Regions from separate parts of the Homo sapiens genome. Here region 2 is linked to region 1. Evidence: promoter capture Hi-C in 16 types of primary human blood cells and fetal thymus (Javierre and others, 2016). All regions are on one chromosome and are shown on one strand. The core of a region is centred on a gene start or on the middle of the fragment in contact, and the rest is flanking DNA. Distances in the headings are between cores, read along the strand shown.

The links. Contacts are between HindIII fragments. The CHiCAGO score rates a contact against its expected background, and 5 or more counts as called.
Region 2: a contact is called between the fragment with the promoter of RNASE3 here and the fragment with the promoter of EDDM3A in region 1, in 9 of 17 cell types (fetal thymus, total B cells, endothelial precursors and 6 more). The highest score is 10.2, in fetal thymus.

The regions. Positions count from the first base shown.
Region 1 is chr14:20,742,674-20,750,122 of GRCh38, forward strand. EDDM3A (epididymal protein 3A) reads left to right here and starts at 3,214. Exons shown (of 2, transcript NM_006683.5): 1 at 3,214-3,319; 2 at 4,882-5,707. The coding sequence starts at 4,908. The coding sequence ends at 5,351. All of the region lies in intron 2 of LOC107984671 (a long non-coding RNA gene), which reads right to left. The HindIII fragment of the contact is 4,056 bases long and covers 1,206-5,261 here.
Region 2 is chr14:20,888,126-20,895,574 of GRCh38, forward strand. RNASE3 (ribonuclease A family member 3) reads left to right here and starts at 3,260. Exons shown (of 2, transcript NM_002935.3): 1 at 3,260-3,326; 2 at 3,557-4,223. The coding sequence starts at 3,562. The coding sequence ends at 4,044. All of the region lies in intron 1 of LOC100507513 (a long non-coding RNA gene), which reads right to left. The HindIII fragment of the contact is 4,045 bases long and covers 3,226-7,270 here.

The sequences.
Region 1 (7,449 bases), core at 1,964-4,463:
ACTTCTAAGCTCAAGCAATCTTCCTGCCTCCGTTTCCCAAGTAGCTGAGGTTACAGGCACGTGCTACCACTACTGGCCTTAAAAATTTTTCTTTTTTTTTTTTGGTAGAGTCAGGTTATCATTATGTTGACCAGGCTGGTTTTCAACTCCTGGCCTCAAGTGATCCTCCCACCTCAGCCTCCTAAGTAGCTGGGACTACAGGCATGTGCCACCACACCCAACTAATTGTTTTAATTTTCTGTAGAGATAGGGTTTCTCCCTGTGTTGCCCAGGCTGGTCTCAAACTCGTGAGCTCAAGTGATCCTCCCACTTTGACCTTCTCAAGTGTTGGGATTACAGGTGTGAGCCACTATGCCCAGCCCCTACATTTCAATATGGGTGAGTGAAAATAGAGATGTAATTTTCTGCACTGCACTACTGCATTGATCCTATGAATTCCATCCATGGAGCCCTTGGAAGTCCGTGGATCACAGATTAAGACACCTATAGACGTTGTCATCCCCTGAATGAGGAACCTAAGTCACTTTTATGGTTTTGTGAAACAGTAGTTCACAAACATTTAAGAATTGAATAGTGGCTAACAAAAGAAATATTGGCTTGGTGCGGTGGCTCACGCTTTTAATCCCAGCACTTTGAGAGGCCAAGGCGGGTGGATCACCTGAGGTCAGGAGTTTGAGATCAGTCTGGCCAACATGGCAAAACCCTGTTTCTACTAAAAATACAAAAATTACCCGGATGTGTTGGTGCGCACCTGTACTCCCAGCTACGCAGAAGGCTGAGGCAAGAGAATCACTTGAACCCAGGAGGCAGAGGTTCCAGTGAGCTGAGATCATGCCTGGACGACAAGAGTGAAACTCCATTCCAAAAATAATAATAATAATAATAAAAGGACATATCAAGGAATTAACAGAAAATAATTAAAATCAAAGACAATAAAGGATGAACATAATTTTCAAGTGATTTAAAATTTATATTTAAAGGGGAATACCTCCTTAAAAACCGAAATCAAAAGTCACTGCCCAAGGAGCTTCTGTTACACAAGCTGGTAGACAACCCTAGGAAGTAGACCCATTACGTAGTTTCCAGAAATACTGGTTGGGTTACCTTCCTGGGCTGCATTCATAGTGGCTAATTTCTGTAAATATAACAATATGCTTTTCCCCAGTTTAGTTTAGATGGCCTCCTAATTGGGTTTATATCCAAAAAGCTTTAGGACTTTGGGCTTAGCTCATAGGAGAGTTCATGGATGTATGCTTGGAGTCCATGATTTTTTTTCCATATTAAAAGTGGAATATCAAGTATTTGAGAAACACTGGCTCATACATTGGCTCAGGTGGCTTCTCTCTCCCACCTCTCTACATTCATTGAGTCACTACTTGAATTTGTCTTCAATAGACAATGCACATTTGTTGGAAAGAGCTCTGGATGTGTGGGCACATGACAAAAAACTGATTTTCCCTCAGAATCGCCTCTCAAATCATCCAAATTCAGAGGCCCAGAATTGTTCCTGTTTTGCTCTCCCCTGTCCCCCAAAGACCTAGAGAGTAGAAGGATGCACAGAACCTGCTCTAAGACTATCTCCCGTCCATCCAGTCTATCAGCACATGATTTTCTATTACTCAAGGACTGCTTCACAGGAGTGGGGGTTTGAAGATAAGTTCTGGATATAAACTGAACCTTCTGTCATTCCAACAATAAGGTGGCCCAGTGAGAAAATCAACTAAGGTGGTTTGGCTAGGAGCAGCCTTTGGAAGTGTTGTTAGAAAAGATTTGCAAGAGTCTTACTTTATTCATAAATCGTAACTTTGACTAGTGTTGATGAACCAGTATTGGTCACATTTGCCAATTTGTGGGGAGTTGGCATGGAAAATATGGTGGAAAATTCCGGCTGTGATGTTAAAGGTAACCATTGAACACTTGCACAAACTCAGTTGAAGAAGTTGTGGTCTTGTCAGTTTGAGCTGAGTTCAGGACTGAATCTTGAGGTCCTGAAAAACAACTTAGCCAGCACCTTGTGACCTATACTTCACAGTCAGATGTTACGTATAGTAGCATTGTAGAAACTATGGCCAGGCTATGTGACATTTTAATAGTAAGCAGTACAGTGTCACCAAACAGCTAAAGGTTATAATTAAAAAACTGAGTAGAGAAATTTCAGATACTGGCTACCTAATCATTCATAGCTATTTGGCCACTGTGTTCACTAGATATTCTTTCACCTCTCAATGAAGGTCTCACAATTCACAACATTAAAAGTGATTTTCTGGCCTGACCAAGTGGCTCATGCCTGTAATCCCAGCACTTTTAGAGGCTGATGTGTTGAGGCTTAGCTAGGCTCAGGAGTTCAAGACCAACCTGGCCAACATGGTGAAACCCTGTCTCTACAAAAATTAATACAAAAAACTAGCCAGGCATGGTGTTGCATGCCTATAGTCCCAGCTACTCAAGAGGCTGAGGTGGGAGGATTGCTTGAGCCTGGCAGGTTGAGACTGCAGGGAGCAGTGTTTGTGCGACTGCACTCCAGCCTGGGCGACAGAGCAAGACCCTGTCAAAAAAAAAAAAAAGGCAAAAGACCAGGCACAGCGAGTCACACCTGTAATCCCAGCACTTTGGGAGGCTGAGGCAGGCAGATCATGAGGTCAGGAGATCGAGACCATCCTGGCTAACACGGTGAAACCCCGTCTCTACTAAAAATACAAAAAATTAGCTGGGCGTGGTGACAGGCGCCTATAGTCCCAGCTACTCAGGAGGTTGAGGCAAGAGAATGGGGTGAACCCGGGAGGCGGAGCTTGCAGTGAGCCGAGATCTCGCCACTGCACTCCAGCCTGGGCAACAGAGCGAGACTCCATCTCAAAAAAAAAAAAAAGGTGGCTTTCCTCAGTGAAGTTCCCATGTAACATAGCATAACCCTCCAGGGACTTCCCCAGAAGTTTGTTAGAATTGAGAGCAGAGCTAAGTCTCTGGTTGTCTCCTGATAGCACCAGATAACCCTTTTCTGGGGTCACCTAGGGTCTTGCAATCATTTTGTACCCAGGGCTCAGCCTTTGATGTTTGTAGCCTTTGCTCGAGGCTACTGTTTGAGTGAGCCCAAGTGTTCCAGATGAAACGATACAGGGACAAGTTCACATAATAAGGCTGTTCCCCATCACCACCTCGGCTACCAATCAGCTGGAGCCCTGCAGCTCCCCCTACTATTCCTTTCTCCACTGCTGTAGATTTCCAGGGCTCTGAGAAAAGGAGGAGGACGCAGACTCTGCTCTTCAGATCCACATGCTGATCCCCACTACAATCAGTGACCTGAACTCAGAGTCCAAGTAGGGTAAGAAGGGCTCTGCTGAGGTTGCTCGGGGGACAGCCAGGAACACTGGAAGGAGGCTGATTGAACTTTTAGATAGCAAACAATGGAGAAGGATCCAAATCATGGAAAACAAAGGTCTGAATTCTGGTTAGCCTCAGTCCCACTGATACAGGCTTTTCCCTGCCCCTCCCTTCCTTCACCGCCAGTCCTCCTAAGCACAGTGCATTAAAGCTGCTTGCATCCTACTCTTCTATCTTGTGTAGGCCTTTATCACCAGGACAGGGTTCCACAGATGAGGAACCCTGTGCCTGATGTGGGCATTTGACATCTTTAGAAGTGCTCTCACATGCTTGCATCTCATTAGACTCTTGCAGGTCTGTAGGGAGCTGTGATTAGGCCTATCTGAGGACACCGATACTCAGAGCTATGAATCAGGCTAGAGGTTCAGTAGGGCCAGGAATACTCCTCATGGCAAATGAGGACAGATAGCTGGTAAAGAGATAACTTTTTCAAACGACCATACATCCTATGCTGTGACCACAGTAGCTCTGCGGGGGACTGTTTTAGTTTTGGTGCCTGATTGATTACAGCAACAGTTCTAAACTGATGTCCTTTTATGATGGCATTGTCAATAAGCTCTAACAAATGAAGATCATTTGTAATAGCAGTAATTAGGGAAATGGCCTCTGAGAAGGGATGCCGATAGTTAATAATGATCACATGTTTCACCCAGACTTTGGGGAAAGTGTTATAAGGAAGTCAAGGTTGGAAAAACATCATTTTTCAGAGAAGTGCAATTGCAGCCTGGGCTGTGGTTTCCAGAATCAATGCCTTCTGCCTAGGAACCACCTCCCAAGTAGTTACTCATCTTCTACATTCCCTTAAAATGCAACAATCTTTTCCACTTTGCAGACAATACGCTTAAAATGTCATTTTTCTATTGGACACATGATCTCCTGAGAGCTTATTTGGTAAAAGAGAGCTCGATAGTGATTGGCTCCTCAAATTGGGTAGAAGACAGGGTAGACAGGAGATATTTGAAATTCTCAAAAGGTACTTTATCTATATTTTCCAAATTTGTGTTAGCTCTCACAGGCTAAAGCATATTTTTAGTTCTTAGAAACTGTATTCTTTTTTTTTTTTTTTTTTGAGACGGAGTTTTGCTTTTGTCACCCAGGCCGGAGTGCAGAGGTGTGATGTCGGCTCACCGCAACCTCCGCCTCCCAGGTTCAAGCGATTCTCCTGCCTCAGCCTCTCGAGTAGCTGGGTCTACAGCCACCATGTCCAGCTACTTTTTGTATTTTAGTAGAGATGGGGTTTCACCATGTTGGCCACGGTGTTTCTCGAACTCCTGACCTCAGGTGATACACCCACCTTGGCCTCCCAAACTGCTGGGATTACGGGTATAAGCCACTGTGCCCAGCCCAGAAACTGTATTCTTTAATGAGAATCATCATCTTCTAATATGGAACCAAATAGCAATATAGTGCCCAAGTACCTGCTTGGCAGGGAAAGGAATTTTAAGGTGGAGCTCAGCTCTCTGAGTATAGTCTGGTTAATGCTTTTCTTTCTCTTCCCTGTAGACACGCAGGTGGACGTGGTGACTGAGATGACATCCTCTCTAAAGATTTGGGGCATACTCTTGGCCCTGCTTTGCATCCTTTGCAGGCTGTGTGTATACAGTAACAACATTTACTGGAGAGAATTCATAAAACTTCATTACTTAAGTCCAAGTCGAGAATTCAAAGAGTACAAATGTGATGTCCTCATGAGAGAAAAAGAGGCTCTGAAAGGCAAGAGCTTTCATATGTTCATCTATAGCTTATGGTTCAAAATTCAGCGTGCATGCATCAATGAGAAGGGGAGCGACCGATATAGAAATGCATATGTATGGGCCCCAGGTGCCCTCAAAGTACTCGAGTGTCACTGGGAGAAGTACAACAATAGGTACACAGAGAGCAGAAGCTTCAGCTACATTGAATTCCATTGTGGCGTAGATGGATATGTTGATAACATAGAAGACCTGAGGATTATAGAACCTATCAGCAACTAGAAAGTCTATGCACATCCTCAGATATTGGTAGAGTATTCAGTGCTTCCAAAGTGGTGGGCCCTGCCTCCATCAATAGCCCCTGCCACTCCCCGCTTACATTTATGTGTCAGTGTTTTCCAACTACTTAGAGTTTATGTACCTCGTGATTTCTTGATACCAAATCTTTGTGTGGTTTCTGTATCTGTAATACAATTTTGTCCTAATTTGCCTAATTTACACCCACATTTTTTCCAAGATTCAGCTCATATGGCATCTGTCCTCGACTAACCTAAGACTTTCCTGATATTGACTCTCTTTATACCTACCCAAGCTGAACGACCCTCCTTTTCTTAAATAAAATATATTATTCTAACGTATGTGACGCTTATATATGTTATGTGTGCAGAGTATGTATCGTGTGATTGGTATGGGTATCGGTGATCTAGGCTATTTTTGCCTATGGCTGTGCAAGGGGTTTAATGTGCACTTTATGTGTCTGTGTCTAATGTATGTGATATGTTTATGTATATCATGTGGATATAAATGATTGTGTGCTAAACTGGAGACAAGTAGTGATGTAAGCACTCATCGTGGTAGCAATTTGAAATAATCAAAAGGGTCAAAATCCAGTTTTAAGGAGTGGGCTGGGCACTGTGACTCATGCCCATAATTTCAGCACTTTGGGAGGCTGAAACAGGTGGGTCACCTGAGGTCAGGAGTTTGAGACCAGCCTGGCCAACATGGTAAGGCCCTGTCTCTACTAAAAGTACAAAAATTTGCCAGGCTTGGTGGCACATACCTGTAGTTCTAGCTATGGGAGGCTGAGGCAGGAGAATCTCCTGAACCTGGGAGGCAGAAGTTGCAGTGAGCCGAGATCACGCCACTGCACTCCAGCCTGGATGACAGAGCAAGACTCCGTCTCCATCTCAAAAAAAAAAAAAAAAAAAGAGTTTACTAAAGTGAAAGGCTGGGAATGGACATTCTGTGGCACACAGATTCCAGAGAAATGGGGTCAGTACTCCAAAGTTAAAAGTTAAGTTCTTTTTTATGTAGGAAAAAGAGAAAGAAGTGAGAAAGGATTACATTTTCTATACCAGACTGGTTCAAGAGTTACAACAAATTAATTGGTTACACTTTTGTCCCCCCACCACATGACTTGTTCTATTTATAGTTGTTTTTCAATTCTCTCCAACTCTAAAAAGTGTGTTTAACTTTCCATCTTAAGACAGTGTGAAAGCCCAGAGGCTGAGATGGTTGGATCGCTTGAGCTCAGGAGTTTGAGACCAGCCTGGGCAACATGGCAAAACCCTGTCTCTACAAAAGAAAAACAAAAATTAGCCAGGCATGGTGGCATGTGCCTATAGTCCCAGCTACTGAGGAGGCTGAGGTGGGAGGATGGCTTGAGCCCAGAAGGCAGAGGTTGCAGTGAGCCGAGATTGTGCCACTGCACTCCAGCCTGGGTGACAAAGCCAGACCCTGTCGTGAAAACAAACAAACAAAAACAAAACAACAACAACAAAACAAAAAGACAATGTGAAAGCGATGAAGTCTTTGCATGAGAAAGGGAAGAGGGGAGTTAATCCATAATGAACATCAGCAGTTGAGAGGGGATGAGTCTTCCCTGGACCCCTTCACAAATGCAGGTAAGAAACAGGCTTAATCTCTAATCAGAGAAGGCAAGATACACTTGCCTTAGTTACAGCTGCCTGGTACATGACTCAAGCACCGTAATCACTTTCCTTTAAGGTTCCAAATAATTTAGAGTTCCAACAACTTAGATTTGAAATTGTAGATTTTAACAGTCTGACACGCTTAGTTCCACTCAGATTTCTGGGTATAGGCAGAGCTGACTGGGTATAAAACACGTGGCATGGTTTCTGGCTTATAATAGGTACTCAGCGAAAATTGTTTCCTTTCCCATTCACCCACCAGTTTTGTACTTTAATTTTGATTATGATAAACAATCATTATAAGAACCCATCAATTATCTGCTGTCCCTGACTCTAGGGATGGGAATTTCTCATACAAAAATAGAGTAGGCTGTCATCTGTATAAAAGCTATACACATCCAGGATGAAAAAGAACACCTCCTCCATCAACCACACACTTACAGATGTCT
Region 2 (7,449 bases), core at 2,010-4,509, 150 kb after region 1:
TGGTTTTCAGAGGAGACATGCAGGAGGACCCACACAAGAAGGAAGGCCTAGGGCCACCTTTCTGAGGTTCAAGAGACCAGGAAGAGCTCAGTACACCAACTATCTTTAGAACTTAGGTAAGTAAAATATTACTCCATTTGCTGCAATTTAATTAACCTGCACCATATTATTATGACAATCTTGTATTACTTTTAATGGCAAAAATCGCAATTACTTTTGCACCAACCTAGTAAATAGTGTGCATTGTCTTTCCCATAGATAGCCACTGCTGCATTAGGGAAATCTGTGTGCAGGAAGGTATCGATGGTTTGGTACCTCCCTGTCAGCAGGTTAAGAGCAAATATTGCAAGGGTACCCTGGGGCTGAAGAAATTGCAAGCATTGAACATTATATTTTTGCACATAAATGCTATGCAAAAAAGACATTGATCAATGCAGTGTACTCAACAGTGGTTTTTACCACAAATGCAGAAGTCTTTGTCTGGGATAATATTTTACAATGTTCATCGGTTTCCAAAAAATGACTTAACACTAGGGCGTAATTCTGACTATTCCTCTCATTGGAAGTGTGGATCAGGTCTGAAAATGTGTCGTTAAATTAGGCTGCAAGACAAGTTATGCTAATAAAATAAAGAGCCCGGGTGAAGTGCCTTGTGTCTGTTCAAGACAAAATCATGCTGAAGTTACAGAGAATTTTGTTTCGATTACAGAGATCATAACAGATAATTTTCTTTAATGTTGACTTATACTTTATTCCTGCTTCATATAAAACATCTTCTCTCAAAGGTCATAAATATCAAAGTAGATCATTTGTACTACTTCTGCTGGCAAATGAAGGTAGTTGGAAATGTACGCAGGAAATCTACACAAGGGACAATCAGAAAAACCTTATGAGCATGTTCTGAATGCAATTTTTATGGCTGGGAGCAGTGGCTCATACTTGTAATCCCATCACTTTGGAAGGCCGAGGTGGGCGCATTACCTGAGGTCAGGAGTTTGAGACCAGCCTGGCCAACATGGTGAAACCCCGTCTCTACTAAAAATACAAAAATTAGGCGGGCATTGTGTCGAGCGCCTGTAATCCCAGCTACTCAGGAGGCTGAGGCAGGAGAATCACTTGAACTTGGGAGGCGGAGGTGGAGGTTGCAGTGAGATCACGCCACTGCAGTCCAGCCTGGGTGACAAGAGCAAGACTCCGTCTCAAAAAAAAACAAAAAACAAAAAACTCCACAATTTTAAAGGATGAATATGGTTGCAAATTGGGCAGGTTATGGTCTGCTTAAGACACTTCAATAAGTCTGATATGTCATAAGCACAGATGTCTTCAGGAGCCAGGCAGGTGTCATCACTGAACAGATAGGATAAAAGTCAGGAGGGAGAGTGGAGTCAGAGAACAGCCCTGAGCTAGAGCCCCTTCCACAGACGCAGCTGTTACTCAGCTCTAATTGATACAACACCAATGGTGCACCAACCACCATCATGTGATTTTTAAAGATAAGACAGTAATGAAAACTTTTAGTGAACTATTCCAATGTCAAACTTTATCTTCCAAACCAAACATCATAAATAGCACTGTGTATGCTGAAAAGAAGCACTGTTTAGCCAAGTACCTGCCCTGGGGCTGCAGTCTATGTCTTTTGCCTCATACTATAGACACTTAAGTGCAAATGTTTCTAGCCAGTGTGGCTGTCAGCATCACAGAGGGGATACTCTACGTATCATTCACCTTTACATTCTCATCACCTACAAAAATGATCTCCACACAATATACATGAAAAAATAAACTTGCCTCATGATAAAGCTGCTAATGAATGTCGGCCAGAACAGGACTTCAAGGCAGAGCAATATTAGCTGCGCATTGAGTCCTCACCAGGTCACCATTGTGTCCACATTTACCTAAGGACCCCAGTGATAAAATTATTGCATTTCTAAATGACAGGAAAATTGGACGGTAGTAAAAATTAGGCAGATTAACTGTTGGAAGGTATATTATATCATTTAAGGGTCTACTTTCCATTTTCTAATCTCAAAGCTAGACCAGATTTAACATCTGTTAGTACCCAGGCCTTACCTTTGCAATTCACTTCTCACCTCTGTACAATTTCCCCACATCATCCCCTGTGCCCAGAATGCTCATCTCTTCTCTAAATCCCCTGAAAATCCCCTGCTTATCCTTTAGGACCTGCTGAAATAAACTTTTTTTTGAAGTTTTCCTTATTTCTCAAGCCAAGTGATTTCCTTCACCAGCAGTGTCCCTATGACACCATGTTCACACAAATGCTATTACCTCTATCACACTGTAATACAATTATATGTCTACAAGTACTTTCCTGTGTTTCTCTGAGGGCCAAGAATAAATGTATGCTTTGTGTATCAAACTGTACACTTGACCTCTATACTTTCAGGAATACAGTGCTCTGTCCTTAAATGTTCATTTGTAAATACAGAACCATATTCTTGTTAATATCACAAAATGAAACTTACCAGGAAGATGAATGACAACCCCAGAACACACTGTTTTGTAGAAAATACCATAGGCTGAAAAGATCACAGGAATACCGAGTGCTAGGTTGGAATCTTTCATGACACCAAATGTTCATTCATCCTCTGCCAGATTTTACAACTGTCCTCGGTGTGTTTTTAGGTTATGTAACTTTACACAAAGTGGAATCAATAATCAGGGCAAGACTTAAGAGAAAGTGGATCCAATGCAAGAGGAGTAAAGAAAAAAATTCCTCAATTGTATGGAGCAGATTGTTTTAATTATCTACAGAATCTTGTGCCCCAAGAAATTAATAGCTCAAGTTTCCAGCAAGAGTGGTGGATGAGATGGAGAGCATTTATGTGAGAGAGAACCAAGGATATTACTAAAAATGGAAGGGAAGCTGGGTTTCTCCTGGGCAAACAGCCCTCTGTGGCTCTATTTCTCCTAACTACTATGCCTGCCTTCGTGTCATTTAGTCATTTAGGGGCCTGCCAGAGGACAGTTATAAAATCTGTGGTCATTCTGCCGGCAGCGTATAGTTTTCACCCAGAGTCCAGATCCCACCGGCAAAACTCTGTCTAACACAGGATGACTTGGAATTAGAGTCCGTATAGCAGAAAGAGCAGCAGGGCTGTCCTTGGGTATCCGTTGCTCAGCCAAGTCATCAAATAAAAAGGATGATTGCACAAGTGGACCATGTGTCAATCTGTGGGTTTCTGCATGGCCAGACCCACCAAGGGAAGCTTTATTTAAACAGTTCCAAGTAGGGGAGACCAGCTGCCCCTGAACCCCAGAACAACCAGCTGGATCAGTTCTCACAGGAGCCACAGCTCAGAGACTGGGTAAGTCAACAATCCCCAGAGCTGGGACAGGAGGGGCAGCGACAGGGCAGCACCTGAGGGAGAGGTGAGCTGAAGTTAGTGCTTAGGAGATGTGGCACACTTTGGGGACAGGAAGAAAAGGAAATGCGACCCCAGAGTGGCAGCAGAGGGGCCTGTGGGTTGAGACACTATAGAGTGTGTCATAACCGAGACCGGATCGGGGAGTAGTTACTTCTCTTCTTTTCTTACAGGAAACATGGTTCCAAAACTGTTCACTTCCCAAATTTGTCTGCTTCTTCTGTTGGGGCTTATGGGTGTGGAGGGCTCACTCCATGCCAGACCCCCACAGTTTACGAGGGCTCAGTGGTTTGCCATCCAGCACATCAGTCTGAACCCCCCTCGATGCACCATTGCAATGCGGGCAATTAACAATTATCGATGGCGTTGCAAAAACCAAAATACTTTTCTTCGTACAACTTTTGCTAATGTAGTTAATGTTTGTGGTAACCAAAGTATACGCTGCCCTCATAACAGAACTCTCAACAATTGTCATCGGAGTAGATTCCGGGTGCCTTTACTCCACTGTGACCTCATAAATCCAGGTGCACAGAATATTTCAAACTGCACGTATGCAGACAGACCAGGAAGGAGGTTCTATGTAGTTGCATGTGACAACAGAGATCCACGGGATTCTCCACGGTATCCTGTGGTTCCAGTTCACCTGGATACCACCATCTAAGCTCCTGTATCAGCAGTCCTCATCATCACTCATCTGCCAAGCTCCTCAATCATAGCCAAGATCCCATCCCTCCATGTACTCTGGGTATCAGCAACTGTCCTCATCAGTCTCCATACCCCTTCAGCTTTCCTGAGCTGAAGTCCCTTGTGAACCCTGCAATAAACTGCTTTGCAAATTCATCTGGAAGTGTCTGTGTGTCTTCCTCGGCCGCTCTGCTGTCATTTAGTGACAATCTGCTCTAGAGATTTGGGTTTATCATGAATCTCTCCCCCTCAATATCTGACCAAATTCCTTAATTCCCCCATCATCCTTCATGTGATACCTGATTCCAGGCCTGCCTTAAAAAAAAATCCAATTGAGTCAACTTAGCATTGGTCTCCCTAGCCTTAATATCTCCTCTAAGCAATTTTCCATCCACTGACTCCTCCCCCAACACCAACCTATAACTTGTGTATAGATCTCCACTTGTTTTAGTTGTATTCCAGAATTGAGCCCAATTTGATATTGAGGTCCCATTTGATGCTTTATGGTCCGACTATGGTTTTTATTGACATGATTTCTATCCCAAGAAAAAAAGAGCTGCAGTGAATCAGCTGAAAATGCACGTGCTTCATTATGATTTATGAATGATAAATTTTGATAGAATTGAACGTTATGATAGAAAATAGAAAAGAAGAAAGTAGAAAAAGTCAAGAATGCTATAAATAAGGTGAAACCAAGATAAAGAAAAGTTTAGCCTCAGGGATATTTCTTTTAAATGGGCACATCAAGTCTCCAGCTATTAGCAATCGTAATAGAGGTGGAACCAGGGTTTGAGTCAAATGTGCAATAAGATAAATTGTTCCGACAGCAGTAAGGACAGATTGTAATGCTGACTGGAGGAGAGGTGGACATCTTTCCCAAAAGTTCCATGTCCTGGAGATGGGGAGCCGCTGGTCACGTGGGAAGGAGAAGGGGGAGGAGGAGGAGGAGGAAGTGGGAGCACTCATGAAGGTGAGTTGGCTCCTGCCCATTCTGCCCTCCATAGATGTTCCCAATGGCGAGTCAAAGGTTCATTCAACACCTGTCAGGAAGGGCACAGCCTCGAGAATTCAGGATTTGTAGACCCAGAGAGAGAAGAAATGGATGATGAGAGCCGCTGCCCTGGACTCCAACACAGGGCTTCACTCAGGAATCCATGAGAAACAGGGGAGAAAAAGGGGAAGCCCCTTCCTGCAAGTTGTGGACAGGTGCAGCATTCAAGTGATTGTTCCAGGAACAGAGTGGGTCTTTTTGAATGGCCCGACTCAGAATGCAAGAGAGGTACGATGCCATCAGATCTGCACCTTGGTCCTTCAGTCTGAGATTTCTGACTTCTATATTTCTCCTCCTCTTCCAGACCCTGAGAAACAGCAATTTCCATTCCTCAGATGACTCCATGTCAGTAATGGTGCTTTAATTGGCATCAGACAGCAGCTGTATTGAAGTCTCTCCTCTGGAGAAGCTATTGAGATCTTGCTTCTCCAAGGTCGGGCTGTGAACTTAAAAGTTTGCACAGAGACACTGAGTTTGGGAAATCTCAGTGCTCAACAGAATCCACTGACTCTAGGTAAAACAGGGCATGTCAGGAAGTGAGTGCAGTCTTCCCATAACCTCAGAGTAGCAGAAGGAGAAGGTGGGACTCTGAAAGCTGGAGCCACGTTTCCTGTGAAGAAAGATGGAGTGGACCTTCCTTGCTTCAGGTACCAGATCACAGGTCTCTTCTCAGTCGGGGATGCCTCATCTCTAAAACCACAGGATAGAGGGATCAGTCCCCACCTGCCCCCACACCCTCTCCACCTTGTGACTTCATCCTCTCTCGTCATTCATTCCTTCGTTCATTCATTCATCCAGCAGTCATCTACTGAGCAGATACCTTGCTCCAGGCACAGTTTGAGGGAGTGATGATGCAACACAAACCAAGACAGGTCCCTGCTCTTTTGAGGCCACATTATACAAGGATAAAAATAAACATACAAAATTGTTCTAAGCATACAAAATTTTGCTAAGTGTCAGGAGGAAAAATACACAGCATAGTACACAGAAAATTACACAGAGCAGCACAATATAGAGGTTCTGTATGTGCCACAAAAGTGACAGGGCAGAGTGTCACCAGGAAAGACTTATCTCAGAGAATGAAATCTGAACAGGAGGAAAAGCAGCCAGTCATGCAGACACCAGATGGAGAATCATCCCAGCAAAGAGAAAGAGAGTTCAAAAGTCCTGACAAATACCAAGGCTGTAAGAAGACTTTTCGTTCTGTGTTTACGATAAGTTGATTAAAACATCTGAAGGAGAATGACTACCATTATTCGCATCTTTGTATGTATTTATTCCTTAATGTAATAAAACATTTTCAGTTTTAAAAAATGGTCCTGAATGGATAGAGGTTTGGCGTGTTAGAAGCACAAAAGTTGTTTGGTCAGGACAAGATCATCATAGCCATGAGTGTTAATGATAGGAGTTAATGAGGTTCAGACCCTTCATGCCTGTGAAGATGGAAGAATAAAGTAAGTTCCTCATGGGGCACAAATCGAGCATGTTACATGCAAGAATAACATTGCCTAAAGATCTGTCCAGCTGCTGTGCAAAACACAACTATTTGGGAGACAAGAGTGGAAGCAAGGCCCCAATGAAGGACCACAAGTTGAGGGAGAGGGAAACAAGAGTCTTCCAATCTCAGTGAATCTCACCATCATCCTCTCATGGTGCAGCCCCATGCTATTCCCCTCCCTGTTGCCATGGCCTCTCTCCAGCCCCTCCATGCCTTCCACATCATCTTCCTGCCATCCCCATGCTGATGACTGGGCTGAGGTCAGAGGCAGCTCCCCTCTCCCAGGACGTGAGACGATTCAAACAAGACCAAGGAGGATTCTGTGCTTGACCATCAGGAAACCCTGGCTGGACTCACTGCCCCTTCTGCAGTAGACATCCAAGATTTTCTGATTGCCCTGGACCCAAGGCCAGCACCACAGAGACTACCATTAGAGAAGTTAAGTGGTCACATCCGCATGTTCCAAAGACGTGATCCTTGGAGTCCACTTCTTTTCCTTGAACCTCCCATGTCTGATTTTATAAAATTCTCTTAATATCAAATCTTCAGGAAGTCTTGCAGGAGTAAATGCCGTTAATTGTTCTGTAAGCCGGCAGGGAGGGTCTCCAGGAATTGTAAGAATTTAATCAACTTGAGCAATCAGCCTGTTTTACAAGCTTGCTGGTGGGAACCAGCTCCTGGCATAACCCAGCAACTTACAGACAAACTGGCATGAACATTCCTCATTATCATGCTAAAGTCTCCACCCAAGGAGGAGGCTCATTACCATAACATGTGAACTATGTGCTGGCAGAATCACTCACTGTGTATGGGCAACTGGGACTCCTCCTCTA